Regions from separate parts of the Homo sapiens genome. Here region 2 is linked to region 1. The links are contacts of gene promoters, found by promoter capture Hi-C in blood cells and fetal thymus (Javierre and others, 2016). All regions are on one chromosome and are shown on one strand. Each heading gives the region's core, a stretch centred on a gene start or on the middle of the fragment in contact. The rest is flanking DNA. Distances are from core to core; before and after follow the strand shown. Region 1 holds the start of KCNS3 (potassium voltage-gated channel modifier subfamily S member 3). Region 2 has its middle 260 kb from the start of KCNS3.

Evidence for each region. The method cuts DNA at HindIII sites, captures the fragments that hold promoters and counts their contacts. A CHiCAGO score of 5 or more calls a contact.
Region 2: a fragment that was not itself captured here is called in contact with the fragment with the promoter of KCNS3 in region 1 in 1 of 17 cell types (megakaryocytes); the score reaches 5.8 in megakaryocytes.

Annotation. Positions count from the first base shown.
Region 1 is chr2:17,876,715-17,881,394 of GRCh38, reverse strand. It overlaps KCNS3 (potassium voltage-gated channel modifier subfamily S member 3), which reads right to left and starts at 2,728. Exons shown (of 3, transcript NM_002252.5): 1 at 2,589-2,728. RefSeq lists silencers at 2,608-2,657, 2,748-2,947, 2,958-3,117. The HindIII fragment of the contact is 4,070 bases long and covers 1,620-4,680 here.
Region 2 is chr2:18,134,733-18,139,412 of GRCh38, reverse strand. No RefSeq gene overlaps it. Among named protein-coding and RNA genes, the nearest start is that of KCNS3, 260 kb to the right of the region's middle. The HindIII fragment of the contact is 1,058 bases long and covers 2,308-3,365 here.

The sequences.
Region 1 (4,680 bases), core at 1,479-3,978:
CACAGCTGGAAACTGGGTCCCCACATCCTATTCTCTTCTCTATGATGTTTCTTTGTGGGTATTTCACACAGGTGGCACTCTGGAAGATGCACTTTCCTGACACCTGATAAGCAGAGTCAATAAACACACCCACCTTCTCTGCTTCAACATACCCTGCAGAGTCGTCCTTCCTCCTAGTGAGACCTCAGGCCCACCATTTCCCACTGGCCTCCCATCTGACTCAACATGCACCTGGGGGGTTCCATCTACTGCTGGCTCCCACAGCAATACTGCAGTGAAGAAAGCAAGCATCACATCCTCATGCAGTTGTTATGGGAATTAAATGAGATAATGCCTGGAAAAGTGCCTAGCAGAGTATCTGATATATAGTATGCAGCTAATAAATGTTATCTATTAAAAAATAGAAGGAAAAGGAGGAGGAAAACCCTGTGGTGCCTACTCTCTCAAAGCTGACACACATTCCAATGGCAAATGCCAGACACAGGGCAGATTGAGATGGGTGGTAGAACAGAGGGATGCACGTCTGTGAAGAATTACAGTGAAGGGCAAAACCCACTGAAGACAGGAGGGAGCTGCAGTTCCCACTCTCCCCCTTCCTTCTTAAAAGAAGATGATGATACTCAGTTGGTGCTTTGCTGGCAAACTCAAGCTCCAGAGCTTTGGATTTTTAATATTATAATATTTCAGAACAGAACAAAGACTGCTTCTGACCTCCCAATTTGCCCTCATACACTTGACCAGCAAAACCTTAGCGTAGCTGCATTCATCAATGGCTCTATTCAGGCAATTATGGGTCAGACAAAAGATTCAATTAATACTGATCCCGCAAGTCTCCTTAGTATATTCACAACATGCTTTGGATTCAGAGTTCTATGGCACCTTCATATGACCTTCTCCGGATCCCAATATTGACAATTCCTAGTTCAGAAACGACAAACATAATATTAGAACAAGAGAAGAAGGGAAGCTGGTGAGAAAGAAAGAACAGACTAGACTGGGTGCAGAAATTATATCATCCATTTGCTGTCTGTCCCCGAGTGCATCCTGGGGCCTGGCCCATGGCGGGCTGGTTGGAAATGCATACTGAACGAGTCAATCTCCTCAAGAAGGTCACCACCCAGGTAAGAAGTGGAGCCTGCACATTACACCAAGTTCAGCTAGAGAATCAAAGCCACCTCTTCGGCTCCAGATATGCAGGGAAGACAAAGCACGAGGGCATATGCCTTCAGCTAAGAGATAGGTGCGTGCTTCCTGTTTACCTGGGCAGGTATTTGCAAATAGTCTAAGAAGGGGGGCAACTAGGAGTGACTTACACAGTTCCAAGTGAATGGTTACGCAAATCGCTTGAGTAAATACAGGGAAAGAAACAGGAAAGGCTTCTGAACTGTTTGTACTCATCTGCTCCAGTATTTTCAGAGGGTAGGGTGAAAGACAAAAAACCCGAACGAAGGCTCCGGGCCAACCACAAAGCTACTCTCCGGCAGGAACGTAAGGAACACCTACCGCCCCTCCCCCCACTTCACGCCTTGGCACCAAACCAGGGCCCCTGGGTCATTTTGGCAGGTGGAGGTAGCTCTTTGCTGTCCTCTGCCCCTGCTGCGGGCCACCCGAGTGAAGCTTTCGGCTCGGTCTCCCCAGACAAAACCGGGGGGAGACATCAAGAATGCAAAAGGTGCTCCTTTCTCCAAATGAACGAGAAGGGACAGAGCGGGGTTGGGGGTGCAGGACAAGCCCTGCAATGCGAAAGGCGCCCAGCCAGGCTCGCCGCGGCCCCTGCCGGCAAGACTGGCTCGCTTGCTAGCCAAGGTGCCTCAGGAGGTCGGGCAGCCACCCAGAAAGGCGCGAAAAAAAAAAGAGGAGTTCCTGACCCCGGGGTGACCCTTCCCCACCACTGCCACTGATCCAAACGCAGAGTCCGCAAGTGACTCCACACCTGCGCTGCAAGCCTCACGCCGTCCCCACCCAGGGCGCAGCGCTGCACGAGAGCAAGGGCCCTGGGTTCGCTCTTCCCTGCAACTGTCGCGGGGCGCCTAGCACAGCTGCAGGGCAAAGGGGAGGGGAGGAATGACAAAGAAGGCGGAGCAGACGGCCCGGGAAGCATTTACAAGCGCCAGGAAAGCGCCTCCTCTCGAGGAAGGGAAGGAACGGCTTCCCGGCCAAGGAAACGCCCCGGGGATGCCCCTACGCGAGGTGCCGCCTTTCTTCGGCTCATCGATTCTCCCGCCTCCAGGTGGTCCTCCCCCTGACCATAGCCCACCCCACTCCCCGAAAGCTGATCCTAAATACCTTCCCCGAGGCTTTCAAATCAACCCAGCCACCGCTTCAACAGCCCGCAGTTCACGCAACAGGCGGAGCCTTAGGGCTCCAGCGACGGCGGGCTCTGGGGACCAGAGGATGCGGGCGCCGCGGGCCAGACGCCCAGAAGGACGGAAAGTGCTCTGCGGCCGTAGACCCTCGGGGTCGTGCACCCGCGACCTGGACCACAGGAGACTGGGGCAGCAAAAGGTGGGGGAAGGCGCGGTAAAGTTGCAGGGTCGCCCGGAGAAGTCTCCGGAGCGCGCAGGGAGGTGGGGACGCCAGCCAGGTACCTGCAGGAGTCCGGACGCATCCAGCTAGCTCCGCTCTGCGACGCCGCCTGCCCGCGCTGCAGGGATCAGGCCTCGCGGCGCGGCCCCGCGCCTGCCGCCGCGGCGGCGAGGAGAGCGGGGTGGCCCGCGTCGGCCGGTCTGTCCGTCGGTCCCGCCCCGCTAGAGCGAGGCTCCCGGGAGCTGCGGGCGGGGCGGGGCCGGACGGGACGGGGCGGGGCCCGCCGCTCGGCCGCCGCCCCATTGGTCGCAGCTCCGCCAGCCCCTCGCTTCGGGCCCGCAGCCGGGCGCCCCGGGCCGAGGGCGCGGGCGGCTGAGGACTGCGGGGCTCCGACCGCCAGACAGGCGGACAGACCCATAGACCTAGATGCTGCCCTGCCGGCCGCGCGCCCCCGCCCAGGCCCAAGTGCAGAGTCACCCCGGAGCGGCAGGCGCTGTCCGGGTGGGACCAGGAGCGCGCCCCGCGCCTCCCACCTGCGCGCCCTCCTGGGCCGGAAGCGCCGTGGCCCTGCGGGAAAAAGATGACCTCCCCCGCGGCCCCGGCGGCTGGGGCAACCGCCTTTCTAAAGTCGCGGCCCAAGCGACACTTTGCTAATTTGCCTGGATTTCCTCAGGAAATCGCGAGGCCCAAACTTGTTTTAAAACAAAGTGCGAAGGAGAGTACATATAGCTCCAGTTCCTGCCAATGTTTGCCATCGGTCCCGCTGCCTGAAGACTCAGGCACAGTGCAGAACAAGATGCTTTGTCTTATTCCTCCACTCACCGAGTCAGAAGAGGTGCTTGGACATTTGCACCAAGCAGATGCGCCTCATATGTAGAAGAGGAACCAGTCGGGTCCCCTTTCGGAAGGACGAATGGAAGAGGAAGTCAGGGGACGATGCCTTCAGCCGACGTTGAGGAACAAACCAGGACCTCGGCGAGGACAGCGTGTGGTCCAGAAGGCATCGCTGGCCTCGCTGCACTGAGCGAGAGCGCTCAGTTAACAGCCAGGAGGAGAAATGGGACGCTTCGGGACCCACCCCCGCGCTCCCCCTCCCGCCCCCAAACTGCAGATTTTTAAGTTGTGCAGACGTGGAACAATTCCTCGGAGCCAGCTGCTCCAAGCTAAGGCGCCCAGTGTTCCCTGGGTTCCTACCCGCAGCATACGCCCTGCCAGCTGCCCCCAAGCCAGCACCCGCTGACCACTCACCTCAGGCAAGCACCTAGGAAGACGATGCAGATTCAAGCTCCAGACCTTGAGCCAAGCGCTGGGGAGGGAATGGGGGCAAAGAGATGGTGGAAAACACTTTCCTGAACTTACTGAATACCCTATGTTATGTGTGGGTTTTCTAATTGTTCTTTGCTTAATGAAAAACCCACGTTGGAAATCAGAAAAAGGCAGTAATCCTCACCGTATCTTGTGGGCTTCAAAGAGGAGGTTTTCCCCTTAAAGGGAGTTTTGGTCCAGAGGAGAGGCTAACAGCAGGCAGGAAGGGCAGAGGAAAAGATAAAGCCTAGGGTGGTCTTCCCCCTGAGGCCTGGAGCCCACCAAGCTCCAACAGTTTCATTTGGCTTCTGGGAAGCAAAGTACAGATGCATGTGTCTGCAGAGCACTGTTCTGAGCCATTTGTCCCTAATTCCATGGTTCTTTGGTTCCTCCAATCTTGTCTCCTCTCCTGTGGAAGAGGATCCAAAGCATTGGTCCACACTGCTATTTACAAGTGGCTGAAGAAGGTAACTTTCTTACATAGTTCATCTTTAGCATAAGCTCTAAGATTGTTCTAAAAATATATTTACATTTTATCAACACCTTAGAAGAATGCTTCCAGATCTCTCCCAGCAGTTACCTATTTAATCATTTTAAAATCACTAAGTTTATCCAAAAAGTCCAGCATGGTTTACTTGAGAAGGAAATATGTTCAGAATCTCTAAGCACTGCAGAAGGCACCTGCAGTGCAGAAGAGTTGGCAGTGAGGTCTTTCTCCTGGGGTCTGGGCGGAACATGTGAGCAGTCGGGAAGGCACACACAGTGGGAGCCAGTAAGGGCCCCTGTGCATCTGCAGGAGCTGAGGACAGAAGGGGTGGGCCTCCACGGTGGGCATGTAGGAGTGGGCAC
Region 2 (4,680 bases), core at 1,587-4,086, 260 kb before region 1:
CCTTTGTAGGGACATGGATGAAGCTGGAAATCATTCTGAGCAAACTATCAGAAGGACAGAAAACTAAACACCATATGTTCTCACTCATAGGCAGTCATTGAACAATGAGAACACTTGGACACAGGAAGGGGAACATCACACACTGGGGCCTGTCGGGGTTGGGGGGCTGGGGAAATGGTAGCATTAGGAGAAATACATAATATGAATGATGAGTTAATGGGTGCAGCAAACCAACATGGCACATGTATACCTATGTAACAAACCTGAACGTTGTACACATGTACCCTAGAACTTAAAGTATGATAAAAATAAATAAATAAATAAATAATTTATGTTTTAAAAAAAAGAAGAAACAGACACTGTGAAAACTATTGAAGGAAGCAGCAGGAAGAATTCAAAAGGCTTATGTAGTTTCATGATGATGGTGTCAGTAGACACAAGGAAGTCAAGAGGAAGAGCTAGTTTGGAAAAGAGAGATGATAAATTCAGTTTGAGATCTGTTGTGCTTGAGCTGTCAGTGGGGCATCCATGTGGAGATATAAAATAATCAAGGGAGAGTTGGGACTGGAGACAGAAATTTCAGAACCGTTCACAATCAATACCCAATATTTGTAATGATAGAAGTAAAGATTGATGTTGAAGAGGCCAGAAAGAAGAGATCTGAGAATCAAAGCTCCAGTAACTGCCTGCCTGAGGGGATAGGAAAAGGAAGAAAGGAGAAGTGGGAGGGAGGAAGAAATTGAGGATGGCAAGGTTTCCCACAGGCCTTAGGAAGAGAAGGAGTCCAGCGTGGGAAGGAGAGATGCTGCCAACCATGGACAACATGGAGCCCAAGGACATAGTGAGGGCTATTGCTTTGAGGAATAAAAAAGCCTGGCCAACTTTCAAGTAAAGATTTCAGAGAGTGGCAGCCAGATTTTAAACTATAAAGGAATGAGTGAGGATGAGGAAATGAAGGCTGTGGGAGCTGCTAAGAGTGATTAGACAGGAAGGGCACCTCCCAGAGTCCTCTAGGATGGAGCACCTGTGTGTGTTTGGTAGAGAACTGGGATTTGAAGCTGGGTTTCTAGAACTTCCTTCTCAAGTCCATTCTACTCCTAATCCCCCTGAGGTGGGGGTGTCATTGACAGCAGTGGTTAGGACAGAGTCCTGGTGCCTGCTGATGGGCAAGGACACAGGGCCCAGTTCTGGTAATCTTCCTTACTCTGAGCCCAATCTGCAAACAGCTTCCAGGCCTTTCAAAAGTGACCCAAAGGCACAACTCTGTAAATAAATTGACTGCTGATAAGACATCAAGAATTAATGAAACTCCCAGAAAACAGCTGGGCACAGTGGCTCACACCTGTAATCCTAGCACTTTGGGAGCCCAAAGTGGGAGGATGGATCCAGGGCAGGAGTTTGAGACCAGCCTGGCCAACGGAGGGAGACCCTACCTCACAAAAAATAAATTTTAAAAATTAGCCAAGTACAGTGGTATGTGCCTACAGTTTTAGGTACTTGGGAGGTTGAGGCAGGAACATTGCTTGAGCCTAGGAGTTAAGGTTATAGTGAGCTACGATCATGCCACTTTACTCCAGCCTGGGCCACAGACTGAGACCTTGTCTCAGAAACAAACAAAAATTCCCAGAAAACATTTTGAACATTTCTCAATGTATTTCTCTAAATGAAAACTCACTTAATATGGATAAATGTTTTCACCAAACCTGTTTCTTTTGACCTTTTCATTTGAGGTCTAACTCATTTTTGTTTGCTTTCTCTCTAAAAGCTGTTAGACCTTTTTCTGAGAACGTTTAGATTTATTGTTAAAATATTTTTCATTAGTAAAGCAAAAAACTAAAATATATTCAGTGAGAGATCTAAAAAAAACTTGTTGACATTACATTAAATGTTATACATTCTTTTTTTTTAGCCATTCCCAAATAACTACAGTTTTCTAATTAGTTTTTGCAGTAAGACATACAAGACTATTTGACAAATGACTTTGAGTCTTTGGGGCATAAAAATTGGCAAAAACGATGAAATTTTAGAATCATGCCCAATTTGTATAGAATATAATCTCCTAGTATTGCAAAATATTTCAGCAGTGTCATCATTAAAGTCCTAGCAGAGCAACATTTTTAAGCTATGCCAAACAGACTTAGGCTAAATCAATGTTGCTCTTAAAAAAAAAAAAACAACTGTGTAATTTAAATCCTGCCCTTGAGGAGAGACTTGCACAGTTTAGAAAACGTAGAAAGACAGAGAGAGATTACAAAGAATGTAACTACTAATCTCCTGGAGAAAAATTCTTGTCACACACTCTAAGCTTTGCTTTTTGTTCCCCCGCTTAAGCAAAACTTTGCCCCACATCCTCTTTCCTGGTTTTCTTCTCAGCATCTCACCCAGCAGGAAATACAGACGAAAAAAAAACTGCCTTCCGAGTTGCCTCCTTTTCCCTCTCGGTTGTGGTCCTAAGGAAATAATATCAGACCACAGGGATATCTTTTCCAGCCAAGAGATATTTCATTTTTATTCAAATAGTTTAAGCTCCATAAAGCATATGAAGTGATATTTTCAAACTTCAAAGGCAGATGTGTCTTTTCTCGGCATCATTTAATATTCAACAACTTGCTCCTAAATGGTTTTGCTATCTAAATATACTCTTTATTGTGGAATTTCTATTCATCTGGGTGGGATTTTAAAAATCTTTCTGCCACTATATAATCTTAAACTCGTTTTTTAAAAGCATAGAATTATTACTTTTTTGTTGCTGAAAAGATAGGAAATAAATCAAGACACATTATATTCAAGAATCATGTATTTGTCCCAATGCCCAGGAGTGAGATGCTTTTAAGAAACAGCATACTTAATGAAAGCGCATTCCAGAAGTAATGTAGGAAGTGGTGTTTGGAGCATGGTTACATGGCTGCTTATGTCTCTTCATTGAGTTCATGCCCAAAATTTGAAACTCTGTCCCTACGTGATTCCTGCCTCTAACTGTGCCTCTTCCACCATCTTTGACCAGGCAAATAATACTCTCCATTTGTTACCTGGTATGTGCCACTGTGGCTATATTTACAAGGCATTACAATTATTCTAAGATTCTATTTAATTCATCCTGTTGTCCCGGGACAAGCATAGTATCTAGACTCTGGTGAGCACTTAGCAAATTCTTACGGGAAAATAAAGAAAATAAGGAGCTAGAAACATCACTCTTTTCTAATTCTGGGTTTGGTGGCATATCTGTCTAAGAGCTAAAACAAAAAAAAGCAATAGTGTGACAGTTGTGGGGACAACAACCCTCAATATTCTGCAATAGCTACAACACACAACACAGGATGCGGTAGGGTGGGCCTACTCAAATCCAGATTCCCTGATGATAAGCTTTATAGTCAACACCACAACATGGTACCACTTCTTGTGGAGAATTTAAGACATAGATAGAGTCATCTAATGGCAGGACAAAGTGCACGTATTCAGACTTCAGAAGCATGGAAAGGCCTGGGCTGTGAAGGTGAGGAGTTGAATTCTGCACAGGACTCTCCAACCAAAAGTGATATCATCTCACACACTGCATTCACTCCACTGGATGTGACATACCAAATCAGATAGATCACATCAAAGAAGGTGCTTCTCTCTTTAAAATTCTTGATGAGATTCTTTCTTATAAGGTTTATTTTAGCAATTTCACATTTGAAATCAAGTGTGTCATTTGCTATCCTTACTTAACTCTAAGCAGCTCATTTTTCCTCTAAAGCCTCTTTCCTTGAGTTCTCTCGAACTAGAAACAGCTTTCTTCTCTGGTGTTTTGGTACTTAAAGGGTTTTAGCCTCATTCATCTATTATTTTTAATTCACTTCCTTTTTTCTGATGGAGTCATAAGGTTAAATCCATCTTAATTAGCATATACTGAGCAGCTACCTGTTCCAGAATCATAATGCACCTGCATCTTCTCAGAGCTCCAGCAGCATTCCCATGGTACATTATTTCTCCTGCTTTTTCCCTTTCCCCCATCCTCCCAACTCTTGTTCCTCCTTCAGGCCTCAGGACAGATATTATTGCTTCTGAAAAGCTTCTCCCTATGACTCCACTTCACCACCTACCCCAAGACTAGACTGGGCTCCCATAATATGTATTTCCTCAAGTCGCTGTATTCAATTCTATCAGAGAACCTGTAACACCATACTGAATTAGGGTGAACCCTGTGAAAATCTGTTTTCTAGGTCAAAACTTTAGCAAATTTAGGAAGTGATTATGCCTTATTTACTATCTTATGCTCAGACCTAACTCAGTAGCTGACACGGATGCCACTTCAATTAAGAAGATGGCAAATCGAGGAATGTGAGCTTTCTAATGATAACTTTGGGGAAAGTTGCAGCTGATTAAACTGTCCAGAGTTCAGAATAAATGCCTGGATGCTAGTCTTAAAGCAAGTCTCCAGTAATGGGCCACAAGTCTCTGCCATTGTTCCATCTGTCATCTTTATTGAGGTCTTGGATGAAGACATGGGAACCAGAAGATCACATTTTCACGTGATATAAAGCTGGAAAATACTGTGACTATATTTGATGTTGGAGTTAAAATTAACAAAAAATATCTTCACCAACAGGATGAAAACAGACAAGATAAAATTTAAAGGAATAGATAGATGCACTCTTAGTTCCCTGTTATAAAGAAGGAATAAAGTGGCTTCCCAGGGCA